Regions from separate parts of the Homo sapiens genome. Here regions 1, 3 and 4 are each linked to region 2. The links are contacts of gene promoters, found by promoter capture Hi-C in blood cells and fetal thymus (Javierre and others, 2016). All regions are on one chromosome and are shown on one strand. The core of a region is centred on a gene start or on the middle of the fragment in contact, and the rest is flanking DNA. Distances in the headings are between cores, read along the strand shown. Region 1 has its middle 19 kb from the start of TTYH1. Region 2 holds the start of TMC4 (transmembrane channel like 4). Region 3 has its middle 11 kb from the start of LILRA5. Region 4 has its middle 8.9 kb from the start of LILRA4.

Evidence for each region. The method cuts DNA at HindIII sites, captures the fragments that hold promoters and counts their contacts. A CHiCAGO score of 5 or more calls a contact.
Region 1: a fragment that was not itself captured here is called in contact with the fragment with the promoter of TMC4 in region 2 in 9 of 17 cell types (monocytes, erythroblasts, total B cells and 6 more); the score reaches 9.2 in monocytes.
Region 3: a contact is called between a fragment that was not itself captured here and the fragment with the promoter of TMC4 in region 2, in 4 of 17 cell types (M0 macrophages, M1 macrophages, neutrophils and 1 more). The highest score is 8.2, in M0 macrophages.
Region 4: a contact is called between a fragment that was not itself captured here and the fragment with the promoter of TMC4 in region 2, in 1 of 17 cell types (monocytes). The highest score is 5.1, in monocytes.

Annotation. Positions count from the first base shown.
Region 1 is chr19:54,395,485-54,398,262 of GRCh38, forward strand. No RefSeq gene overlaps it. Among named protein-coding and RNA genes, the nearest start is that of TTYH1, 19 kb to the right of the region's middle. The HindIII fragment of the contact is 1,914 bases long and covers 371-2,284 here.
Region 2 is chr19:54,171,561-54,174,760 of GRCh38, forward strand. It overlaps TMC4 (transmembrane channel like 4), which reads right to left and starts at 1,600. Exons shown (of 15, transcript NM_144686.4): 1 at 1,479-1,600; 2 at 310-523. The coding sequence starts at 1,557. MBOAT7 (membrane bound acylglycerophosphatidylinositol O-acyltransferase MBOAT7) reads right to left here. Exons shown (of 8, transcript NM_024298.5): 8 at 1,855-2,871. The coding sequence ends at 2,484. RefSeq lists enhancers at 1,723-2,539, 2,540-3,200. The HindIII fragment of the contact is 9,651 bases long and covers 1-2,028 here.
Region 3 is chr19:54,322,923-54,326,057 of GRCh38, forward strand. No RefSeq gene overlaps it. Among named protein-coding and RNA genes, the nearest start is that of LILRA5, 11 kb to the left of the region's middle. RefSeq lists a silencer at 2,255-2,549. The HindIII fragment of the contact is 479 bases long and covers 1,371-1,849 here.
Region 4 is chr19:54,346,581-54,349,494 of GRCh38, forward strand. No RefSeq gene overlaps it. Among named protein-coding and RNA genes, the nearest start is that of LILRA4, 8.9 kb to the left of the region's middle. The HindIII fragment of the contact is 344 bases long and covers 1,079-1,422 here.

The sequences.
Region 1 (2,778 bases), core at 78-2,577, 220 kb after region 2:
CTTTGTGAAAAGGAATGGAAGGATGTGGTGTGATGCAGCACGCATCACCAGGTCCCTGTCATAAATTTGCTTTTGTGGCCGGGCGCGGTGGCTCACGCCTGTAATCCCAGCACTTTGGGAGGCTGAGGCAGGCGGATCCCCTGAGGTCAGGAGATCGAGACCAGCCTAGCCAACATGGCGAAACCCCATCTCTACTAAAAATACAAAAAATTAGCCGGGCGTGGTGGCAGGCACCTGTAGTCCCAGCCACTCGGGAGGCTGAGGCAGGAGAATAGTTTGAACCCGGGAGGCGGAACTTGCAGTGAGCCGAGATTGCTGCACTCCAGCCTGAGCGACAGAGCGAGACTCTGTCTCAAAACAAAACAAAAAAAGCTTACCCTCCATGATGCAGCAATCCCACTACTGGGTATATGCTCAAAGAAACTGAAACCAGTGTGTGGAAGAGATGTCTGCACCCCTATGTGTATTGCAGAGTTATTCACAATAGCCAACATATGGAATCACCTAAGTCTCCATCAGTGGACAATGGGTAAAGGAAATGTATATATACACAGTGGAAATACTATCCAGCCTTAGAAAGGAAGGAAACCCTGTCATTTACAGTATGGATGTAATTGTCAACCTTCAGGACATCATGCCACATGAAATAAGCCAGATACAGAAAGACAAATATCGCACAACCTCACTTATACATGGAATATTAAAAAGTTGAACTCAGGCCTTCGAGACTAGCCATGGCCAACATGGCAAAACCTACTCGGGAGGCTGGGCACGGTGGCTCACGCCTGTCAGCACTTTGGGAGACCAAGGCGGGCAGATCACCTGAGGTTGGGAGTTCGAGACCAGCCTGACCAATATGGAGAAACCCCGTCTCTACTAAAAATTCAAAATTAGCCAGGCGTGGTGGTGCATGCCTGTAATCCCAGCTACTCGGGAGGCTGAGGCAGGAGAATGGCTTGAACCTGGGAGGCGGAGGTTGCAGTGAGCCGAGATTGCGCCACTGCACTCCAGCCTGGGCGACAGAGTGAGACTCTGTCTCAAAAAAAAAAAAAAAAAAAAAGTTGAACTCACAGAAGCAGAGAGCGGAATGGTGGTGACCAGGGGCTTGGGAAGGGGAGTAGGGATTGGGAAGATCGTGGTCAGAGGGTACACAATTTTAGATAGAAAAAAATAAATTCAAGAGATCTGTTGTGCAACATGGTGACAAATTAGTGAAAATGTATTATGTACTTAAACATTGTTAGCAGAATAGATCGTAAGGGCTCTCGCCACACACGCAAAAATGACAACTATGTGGCCACGAACGGTGGCTCACACCTATAATCCAAGCACTTTGGGAGGCTGAGGCAAGTGGATCACTTGAGGTCAGCAGTTTGAGACCAGCCTGGGCAACATGGCCAAACCCCATCTCTACAAAAAATACAAAAATTAGCCAGACGTGGTGGCACACACCTGTAATCCCAGCTACTCGGGAGGCTGAGGCACAAGAATCACTTGACGTGGGAGGTGGAGTTTGCCGTGAGCTGAGATCGCACCACTGCACTCTAGGCTGAGTGACAGAATGAGACTCTGTCTCAGAAAAAAAAGTGAGGTGATGGATATGTTAAACATCTTGATTATGGTAATTATTTCACAATGTGTACATATGTCAAAACATCATGTTGTACACCTTAAATATATACACTTCTCTTTTTGAGACGGAGTCTCGCTCTGTCGCCCAGGCTGGAGTGCAGTGGCGCAATCTCGGCTCACTGCAATCTCCGCCTCCCGGCTTCACACCATTCTCCTGCCTCAGCCTCCCGAGTAGCTGGGACTACAGGCGCCCGGCTAATTTTTGTATTTTTTTTTTTAGTAGAGACGGGGTTTCACCGTGTTAGCCAGGATGGTCTCGATCTCCTGACCTTGTGATCCACCCGCCTCGGCCTCCCAAAATGCTGGGATTACAGGCATGAGCCACCGCGCCTGACCAAATATATACGCTTTTATTTGTCAATCATATCTCAATTAAGCCAGGAAAAAATTGGTAAGGCTACTTTTGGAAACACTTTGACACTATTTCAAAAAATTGAAACTAACAATCCCTATAGCGCAATCATTCCATTCTTATATGTATACTCTTTAAAAATTCTTGCACATATGCACCAAGAAACATGTAAAAAATGTCTGTTACGTAATAGGGAAAGTAAAATAAATAGAAATAGAAAAGTAACTAAAATAAAAGAAGCCCATGTGTTCATCAACAGGTACAAAAATACAAAAACTGTGATATAGACCTATATTGGAAAGCTTCAAACTATGGCATTGAAAATGATTTCACGAATCATTTCAAAAAAAAATTCATGGTTTCTGTTGTCATTTTTACCAAGTTCATTCCAATATGTGGTTTAGAGACACTATTTTAAACAAATAAGGGGCCAGGTGCAGTGGCTCACGCCTATAATCCCAGCACTTTGGGAGGCTGAGGCGGGCAGATCACCTGAGGTCAGGAGTTTGAGACCAGCCTGGACAACATGGTGAAACCCCGTCTCTACTGAAAATACAAGAATTAGCCAGGCATGGTGGTGCGCGCCTGTAATCCCAGCTCTTCGGGAGGCTGAGGCAGGAGAATTACTTGAACCTGGGAGGCAGAGTTTGCAGTGAGCCGAGATCATTCCACCGCACTCCAGCCTGGGCAACAGTGTGAGACTCTGTCTCAGAACTTAAAGTAGAATAAAATAAAATAATAAAATAAAACAAATAAGGGAACGACAAGCACAGTTACTTCTGCAGAGGAGGAAA
Region 2 (3,200 bases), core at 350-2,849:
ATATTAACAGATTTTGGACACACACACAGAGAGAAACTGAGGCAGAGACAGGATTGGTGGAGACCAGGGAGACGGCAAATCCCAGAGAGAAGAGACCCCAGAGCCATCGAAAGGCAGCACTCACCTGGAGTCCGAAGTAGAGACAAAGATGAGGGGAAGAAAGAAACCAAGAGAGGCAGCTCTGAGCGGGGCAGAGAGAGGCCCCAGAAGCCAGGAGCGGCAGAGGACAGAGGGAGGAGACCGAGTCCAGGGTATGGGAGAAGGGCCCGGTCCGGGCTGTGCGGGTCCCAGCTGGAGGTGGGGCCTCACCTGTGTGCCCGTCTGGCCTGCATGGGCCAGGGCAGTTCCCGGGAAGGGTGAGGGTCCTGCAGCTCTGTCTGGGTGACTTCTGTGAAGGCCTTTCTGCTCCTTCCTCCATCCTCCTCCTCCTCCTCCAGCGCCCCCCAAGGCAGCACCCCAGGGTCTCGGTACCGAAGGGTGGCAGCACTGGGCAGCTCGTTCAGCACAGAAGACAGCGATGGGCCTGGGGAGGAGCAGGGGGCTGGGAAGACCCGGGAGTCTGGGCCCTAATTCCTCCTCCCTCAGACCAGGAAACCAGGTCCCCGGCCCCTCCTCCCTCAGACCCAGGAGTCCAGGCCCCCGGCTCCTCCTCCCTCAGACCCAGGAGTCCAGGCCCCCGGCTCCTCCTCCCTCAGACCCAGGAGTCCAGGCCCCCGGCTCCTCCTCCCTCAGACCCAGGAGTCCAGGCCCCCGGCTCCTCCTCCCTCAGACCCAGGAGTCCAGGCCCCCGGCTCCTCCTCCCTCAGACCCAGGAGTCCAGGCCCCCGGCTCCTCCTCCCTCAGACCCAGGAGAACAGGCCCCCGGCGCCTCCTCCCTCAGACCCAGGAGTCCAGGCCCCCGGCTCCTCCTCCCTCAGACCCAGGAGAACAGGCCCCCGGCCCCTCCTCCCTCAGACCCAGGAGTCCAGGCCCCCGGCTCCTCCTCCCTCAGACATAGGAATCCAGGCACCCAGCCCCTCCTCCCTCAGACCAGGAAACCAGGTTCCCAGCCCCTCCTCCCTCAGGCCCAGGAGTCCGGGTGCCAGCCTCTACTTCCCCTGGACCCAGGGGTCCACAGCCCTCAACTCCATCCCCAAGCGTGGAACCCTCCTACTCCAGGGCAGTGGAGTCCAGGCTTTAACTTCCTTTTCCCTCTAGCTCAGGAGTGTGGGAACCCAGCCTCTCCTATTCCCAAGACACCCAAACTCCCAGCCCTTAGCCCTCCCCTCCTCCCAGACTAGCCTGGTTCTCCAGGCTCCTCCTCCTCAGACCCTGGAGTTCCAGCCTCCAGTTCCCTTCTCCCCCATAATATCAGGAAGTGGAACCTTCTCTCTTTAGCCCTCAGACTCAGGAGGCCAGGCCTCCCCTTTCCTCCTCCAGCAGGACTCCCACCTAGCCTGAAGGTCGGATGGATCTGAGCTTCTCCTGGCATTCCCTACCTCCTCTGGCCTCCCGGGGGGCCAGCCACTCCCTAGAGGAGCCCCAGGCTTCTGATTCCAAGGTCGGGTTTTCTTCCATGGCCCCAGGCTGGGCTGTCTCTAGTGGCCACCAGGCAGACACTGCCCCAGGTAAGGGAGGGGCCAGGGGCAGGTGTGTACCTGGCCAGCAGGTGGCCCGGAGGGAGTAAGGTACACTTCCTGTGGTTTCTCAGGGCCGCTGATGCGAAAGGTCTCCTGGGAGCTGAAGTCCCCGTGGTGCCCCGGGCCTCACAGTTTGGTTCCTGGGCTGGGCGGGGGGGCTGTACCTCACCCTGGGACTTGGTGGACTAAGTCCTTCCCACCGTTTATCACCCAGATACCTGCACGGACACGATGCCTTTGTGCAACACTTTATTGGGAAAGATTTACACACGGTGACCTGTCATAGGCCAAGCGATGAGAAGAGGGCGCCAGGAGTGCTGGGGTCCCGAGGTGGCTCAGATGGAAGCCATGGGACGGCCGTCCCCAGGCCCGCGCACCCGCACCTCAGTTTCCCCTTTGTGAAATGGGAAGCTTATGCTTCCTTCCAAGTCTGCAATATTGGTGCGATGAGCTAAAAGTGGAGCGAAAGACACAAGGAAGAGGCTTCCCACTCCCAGGACCTGCCCCCAAGCTCCGACCCCACATTGTGGATGCAAAGAAAGGGAATTTGCCCAAAACCCACTGCCCAGGGGCCCCTTCCGTTTTGGGGAAGTGCAGTGCTCTCTGGATACCCAGAAGCTGGAGCAGGGGCCAGTGACTCTTGTCTGGACAATACTTTGATTTTGTAGGAGTGGAGGTGGCCTCTGGGCAGAGGGCAGGGAGGACACCCCCGGGTCTGCTTCAGTTGCAGGCAGGGTATTTAGCTGGGGAAGAGGAAATTCTCTCCAGGACCCTCTCCAAGGTAAGGACTCTTTCTGGGGAGGAGACAGCAGCCTGGTTCACAGAATTCCCGGGACCAGCTGGCAGAGGGAGCGTCGTGACAGCTTACTCCTCCCGGAGCTTCTCCGGGGCAAGGCTGGTGGGCTGGGATGCTGCCTTCCGCCGGCTGGGGCTGCCCCCACCTAAAGCCAGCCCCAGCCCCAGGGCTGCCAGGGCCAGGAAGTGGATACAGAAGTAGATGGAGGCCCAGTACCGAAGGGTGTCGGCCAAGGAGAGCAGCACGAAGCCCATGCACATGTAGTCATAGGCGCGCATCTTCAGGAACCAGTGCACCCAGTCCCAGGCCTTCTGGCCCCCTGGGCTCAGCCGCCCCCGCAGGGCTGACTCCAGCCGGCCCTCGGCAGCCAGGCACAGCGGGATGGTCAGGAAGCTCAGGTAGTAGCCCGGGTGGAGGCCGTGCCAGTAGGCGCTCAGCAGCATGGTCCAGGCGCTCCTGAGGAGGAGGCTGGGAGTCAGGACCTACGAGTCCAGGTCCCCAGTGCCCACTGCCCCCAGATCCAGGAGTCCAGGACCCCAGCCCCTCCTCCCTCAGACCGAGAAGTGCAGGCCCAGCCCCTCCTCCCTCAGACCCAGGAGTCCAGACCCCACCCCTTCCTCCCTCAGACCCAGGAGATCAGGCCCCAGTCCCTCCTCCCTCAGACCCAGGAGACCAGACCCCACCTCCCTCCTCCCTCAGATCCAGGAGTCCAGACCCCACTTCCCTCCTCCCTCAGATCCAGGAGACCAGACCCCACCTCCCTCCTCCCTCAGATCCAGGAGACC
Region 3 (3,135 bases), core at 360-2,859, 150 kb after region 2:
AGAGTCTTCTCTAAACTCCCCCGGGGAAAGGGAGACTCCCTTCCCCAGTCTGCTAAGTAGCGGGTGTTGTTCCTTGCCACTTACGCTACCGCTAGACCACGGTCCGCTTGGCAACGGACGTCTTCCCAGACGCTGGCGTCACCGCTAGACCAAGGAGCCCTCTGGTGGCCCTGTCCGGGCATGACAGAGGGCTCGCACTCTTGTCTTCTGGTCACTTCTCACTGTGTCCCCTCAGCTCCTATCTCTGTATGGCCTGGCTTTTCCTAGGTTATGATTACAGAGGGAGGATTATTATAATATTGGGATAAAGGGTAACTGCTACAAACAAATGATTAATGATATTCATATATAATCATAACTAAGATCTATATCTGGTATAACTATTCTTGTTTTATATTTTATTATACTGGAACAGCTCGTGTCCTCTGTCTCTTGCCTCGGCACCTGGGTGGCTTGCCACCCACAGCATTCTAGCCTGGGCGACGAGCAAGACTCCGTTTAAAAATATATATATATACATATATAAACATATTCCTGAATGTCTATACTATAAAATATTTTTAAATATAACTTATAAATCTAAAGATAATACCTTAAAAAAGGAAATAGAATTGAGTTCCTATCAAATTAGGGCATTACTAAACAAGGAAGAATTATTTGTACTAGAATGTAAGCAAAATTACTTGACCATATATTTTATAATGCATATATTATTTATCATATTATATAATAAATGTATACTTTTAAATCAAATTATATATTATGTAGTGACATATAGTTAATATTATTATATAATTTTGACTATATATAGTAAAACATAAGTGAATACACCCTCAAAAATGTTTAATTCTTAAAATATGTATGGTCAAAAATTCTAAATTTCATCCTAGAGAAATAGCTGACTCCACATTCGGAGAGAAAATACAGGAGATGAAGTCAGAACTTCTTATCATGCAAGAAAGCAAAGACATCACCACATACCATCAGATTCATGTTACCTGAACATAAAGTCTATCATGAAAAGTTCCCAATGGCAAAATGTGGAATATTTATAGAATCAAATAATATAGGTAGTGTATTAAAACTAATGAATATGTTCAAAGCCTATCAGTTTACTACTGTTAAAAACAAAATTAAAAAACAAAAAACCCCTCAAATATGAGGAATGGGAAAAGAACAAAATCTCCACATCAAAAACGTGGAAATGAAGGCAAGAAGCAAGATCTCTTTTGTTTATCTGAAGTGTTACACAGGAAACATTCTTTTCTGTAGAATGTTTCTACATAATAATAAGTATAGTAATAGCTATAGTAATGTTTTTGCCTAAGAATAGCTGTAGAGTTTTTGCATAATAATAGTTAACCCTGCAAAGCTTGGATAACCTGTGCGTTGAGTATACAAGCAATAAACATCAATGGCTGCCAAAACCCTTAGGCTGAAGGTTGATAGTGAATATAATAACGAGTGGATCCTGCTGATAGTACAGCCATCAGTACAGAATTGCAAGGTGGAGAATGCAAGACACAAGCAAATGAGCCATTGTGTCTCACTTCTGACATTTTCTAAGCATCTTTTTCACCATACCCTCAAATCTAGACCGTTATCTGGCTGGGCGTCTCTATGTTTCTTGGATTTGTGTGTCAAACTCTCTAGCGAGTTTAGGAAAATATTCATGGACTATATCCTCAAATATATTTTCCAAGTTGCTTATTCTCTCTTCCCCTTTCAGGAATGCTGACAAGTCATACATTTGGTGTCTTTAGATAATATCATATTTCTCAGAGATTTTGTTCACTTTTAAAAATATTTTTTCCTTATATTTGACTGATTTGATTCAAACAAGTCTTCAAGCTTTGAAATTCTTTTCCTCAGCTTGGTCTATTCTGCTGTTAATGCTTCTCATCGTATTATGAAATTCGTGTCATGAATTTTTCAGCTCGAGAAGTTCAGTTTGGGTGTTTCTTAAAATTTAATCGTTCATGTCATTAATCATTTTACTGGATTGCTTGGCTTCCTTGGATTGAATTTCAACTTTGCTCTTGATTTGAATGACCTTCCTTGCCATCCAGATTCCAAATTCTACGTTTGTCATTTCAGACAATTCATACTGATTAAGAACAATTTCTGGGGAGCTCGTGGACTGGTTTGGAGATAATAGGAGTTATTTCCCTGATTTTTTTTCTCATCTGGGAGGGTTGCTATTCCTTTCATTGCAAGGGTATAAATTGAGTATAGTCTGTTGGCTTTATTTCTGGAAGTTTTCAGGGGACTAAGGCTCTGTACAGGGTCTTTGCTGAATTCTTGCTCTTGGTTTTCCAGGCGGTAGAATTTAGTAAAGTGATTTTTGGTGTTGTAGTGTGGCTGTAATCCAGTAGATGGCGCTTGAGAGCAATAGGCAATAGACAGGCTCTTACTCCACTGCGTGGTGCCTTTGTTTATCTTTGTTCTTGACCTTGATACTTTTGAAAAGGTCAGAGCAGTTTTTTTGTTTTTGTTTTTTGAGACAGGGTCTCACTTTGTCACCCAGGGTGGAGTGCAGTGGCACGATCTTGGATCACTGCAGCCTCAACCTTCCCAGGCTCAGGTAGGTGACAGAGCAGGCAAGTTAACTTAAGGCCTCCTCCTTGGCAATCTGGTCTCAAGTAGGGGACAGGTCCCCACAGACAGAACTGAGGGGCAAGTGTGGCATGGGCTCCAGACCCCGAGCACTGGAATTAGACACCTCTCCTTTGCAGAAAGGTTTAGCCTTTCCTCAAGCGGTTCTGCAAAGGAGAGGTGTAGCTGGGGTGGCGTGGGCAATGGTGGTGGCAGAGTTTGTGTGAAACTTGTCTCTTCCCCAATCACTGTCACTTGTTTCAGGAGACGTTGTAATGTGCTGTATGGTTTGACCTCCAGGCCAGTAGGTGGCAATTGCTGGTGAGAGCCAGTTGTAGCGCTGGCAGTGGGCTTTATGCTTGACCTTTGTTAACCAGAAGCATTCAGGTATCCTAAGTGATGGGTTGGGTTGTGGAAAACTCAGTGGTCTTGATCAGTACTCTGCCTCCAACGCAGGGAAATGAAGGTAAGTGTGGCTGGTCCAGGCAAGCCTGTACTCAGGCCCAATGCTAGGCACAGGCTCCGTCCCCACAGAGGCTA
Region 4 (2,914 bases), core at 1-2,500, 170 kb after region 2:
GATGGCAGATCTCTTGAACCCTGGAGGTGGAGGCTGCAGTGAGCCGAGATCGCGCCACTGCACTCCAGCCTGGTAGACAGAGCAAGACTCCGTCTCAAATAAATAAATAAATAAATAAATAATTAAAACATAAAAAAATAAAAATTTTCTCGGGGAGCTGACTATGAGAAGGCAGAAATATGTTAATATCTCCAGGTGTCTGTCTGGGGTGTGGTGGGTGGGAAAAAGGCGGAAGTGGTTTCCTGTAATGAATTTGCTCTGTAGGAAGGAGCCATGTTTTTTGGCGCTGGGGATGTTAACTTAGTCCTGGTCATCAACAACATGAACATCAGGCAGAGATACTTGTGTCTTACTTGGAGGAAGATTCAGACCCGGAGAAGGATTTTGATCAGGGAAGAGTCAGCTACAGATAAGGTTGGGGCTATGAGAATAATAGATGTCAGCCTGGAGTGAGGGTTTGGAGAAGAGGACCAGGAGGAGGCTGATGTGGTGGCACAGACAGGCTGTCTTCAGTCTCCAGTGAGCTTGCACTGTGGGAATGGACCCGGGGACGTGGGTGAGGAGGGCTCAAGGGTACAACTGCTTGGATTTGTTCACTGTATGTGAAACAAAAGTGAGTGAGCAACTAGGGTCTGTTTCACTCTCTGCCTTAGTTTACTGGAGGAACGAATGGTGTCATCCCAGGATGAATGATCCCGGGGAAGAACCAGGCTAGGGAGATATTTATAAGGCTGTTCACGGAGTGCAGAGGAAGCACTGTCTCCCTCCTGGCCCTGCTGTCTAGTTTTGTTTCTCCCAAGCACTTCTTCCCTCCGACTTTCTTAATTCTATAAGTAGCAGCACCAGAACGCGATCATGTCTGTTGCAGAGATGTGAATGGAGCTGGAGGTCATTATCCTTAGTAAACAAACACAGGAACAGAAAACCAAATACCACATGTTCTCACTTATAAGTGGGAACTCCATCAAATCTCCAAGTCATTTACAACCTCTTCTTCCCCTGTCCATAACTCTTCATTTGATACCGTGAATTCTGTCTCCATGCTTTGGGCCAAAGCATTCACTGGAAGAAATTCCCAAGCTTTGGTTTAAGGCATGAGGGTTCATACTTACTGTCAGTTGACCTTCAGCAGGTGACATCCTCCCCTGCCCCATCCATTTTCCTCGTTGTAGGAAGATGGTAATTAACCCTCCCGTCAAGTTTTTTTGTTTTGTTTTTTGTTTTTTTTTTTCCTGACAGCGTCTCATGCTGTCACCCAGGCTGGAGTGCAATGGCACGATCTCTGCTCACTGCAACCTTGACTTCTTGGGTTCAAGCGATTCTCCTGCCTCAGCCTCCTGGGTAGCTGGGATTACAGGCATGCACCACTGCCAAGCGTGTCCATGTGAAGAGACCAGCAAACAGGCTTTGTATGAGCAATAAAGCTTTTAATTCACCTGGGTGCAGGTGGACTGAGTCTGAGAAAGGAGTCAGCGAAGGGAGATGGGGAAGGGGTTGCTTTATAGGAGTTGGGTAGGTGATGGAAAATTACGGTAAAAGGTGGTCATCTATTGTTGGCAGAGGAGGAGGTCACAAGGTACCTGGTGGGGACATCGTAAGACTTATTATCCAGAAGAAGAATGTCACAAAGTTGATTGATCGGTTAAGGTGGGGCAGGGACAAGTCACAATGGTGGAATGTCGTAATGTTGGTTAATCAGTTAAGGCAGGAACTGGCTGTTTTACTTCTTTTGTGGTTTTTCGGCTGCCCCAGACTTCTTGGCTCCTTCAGGCCATCTGGGTGTATATGTGCAGGTCACAGGGGTTACAATAGCTGAGCTTCAGCTCAGAGGCCTGACAACCACCACACTGGCCAATTTTCTTTTTTTTTAAATTTTTAGTAGAGACAGGGTTTCACCATGTTGGCCAGGCTGGTCTTGGACTCCTGACTTCAGGTGATCTGCTCGCCTTGGCCTCCCAAAGTGCTGGGATTACAGGCGTGAGCCACCATGCCTGACCTAAACCTTTAAAAGTGGATACTTGTGTGAGAGAGAGAAACCATGCAGAAGAGATTAAATAAAATTAGACGGATATAATTGTGTCTTGTTTCTTGTTTTGGTTTAGAAATATAAGTGTATTTTCTTGAATAGATATGATGCAAAAATATTTTTAAATATAACTCATAAACTTAAAGATAAAACCTAAAGAAAAAGAAAATGCGGTAAAACAGGTGGGAGGGGAAGCAGGAAAGGCAGGCACACTCGTGTAACTATGATTGAAAGAAAATCTGTATACAAGTGGACCTGCACAGTTCAAACCTGTGGAGTTCAAAGCTCAACTGTATGTTACTGCAAATGATTATAAGTGCTGTTATAGAAACATTCAAAGACCAGAAAAGGACCACAATGGCTGACCACACATAGCCAGGAAGAGCTTCTCCCACCGAGAGACCAGGCCATCAAGAAGACCAGAATGCTCTGGGCAGATCTTCTGAAAGAGGGCGCTGAGGGTGGATGGAGAGAGGACACAGATCCTGAGGATGGATGGAGGGAGGACACAGATCCTGAGGATGCATGGAGGGAGGACACAGATCCTGAGGATGGATGGAGGGAGGAAACAGATCCTGAGGGTGGATGGATGGATGGAGGACACAGATCCTGAGGGTGGATGGATGGAGGGAGGACACAGATCCTGAGGGTGGATGGAGGGAGGACACAGATCCTGAGGATGGATGAAGGGAGGACACAGATCCTGAGGGTGGATGGAGGGAGGACACAGATCCTGAGGATGCGTGGAGGGAGGACACAGATCCTGAGGATGGATGGAGGGAGGACGTAGATCCTGAGGGTGGATGGAGGGAGGACGCAGATCCTGAGGGTGGATGGATGGAGGACGCAGATCCTGAGGATGGATGGAGGGAGGATGCAGATCCTGAG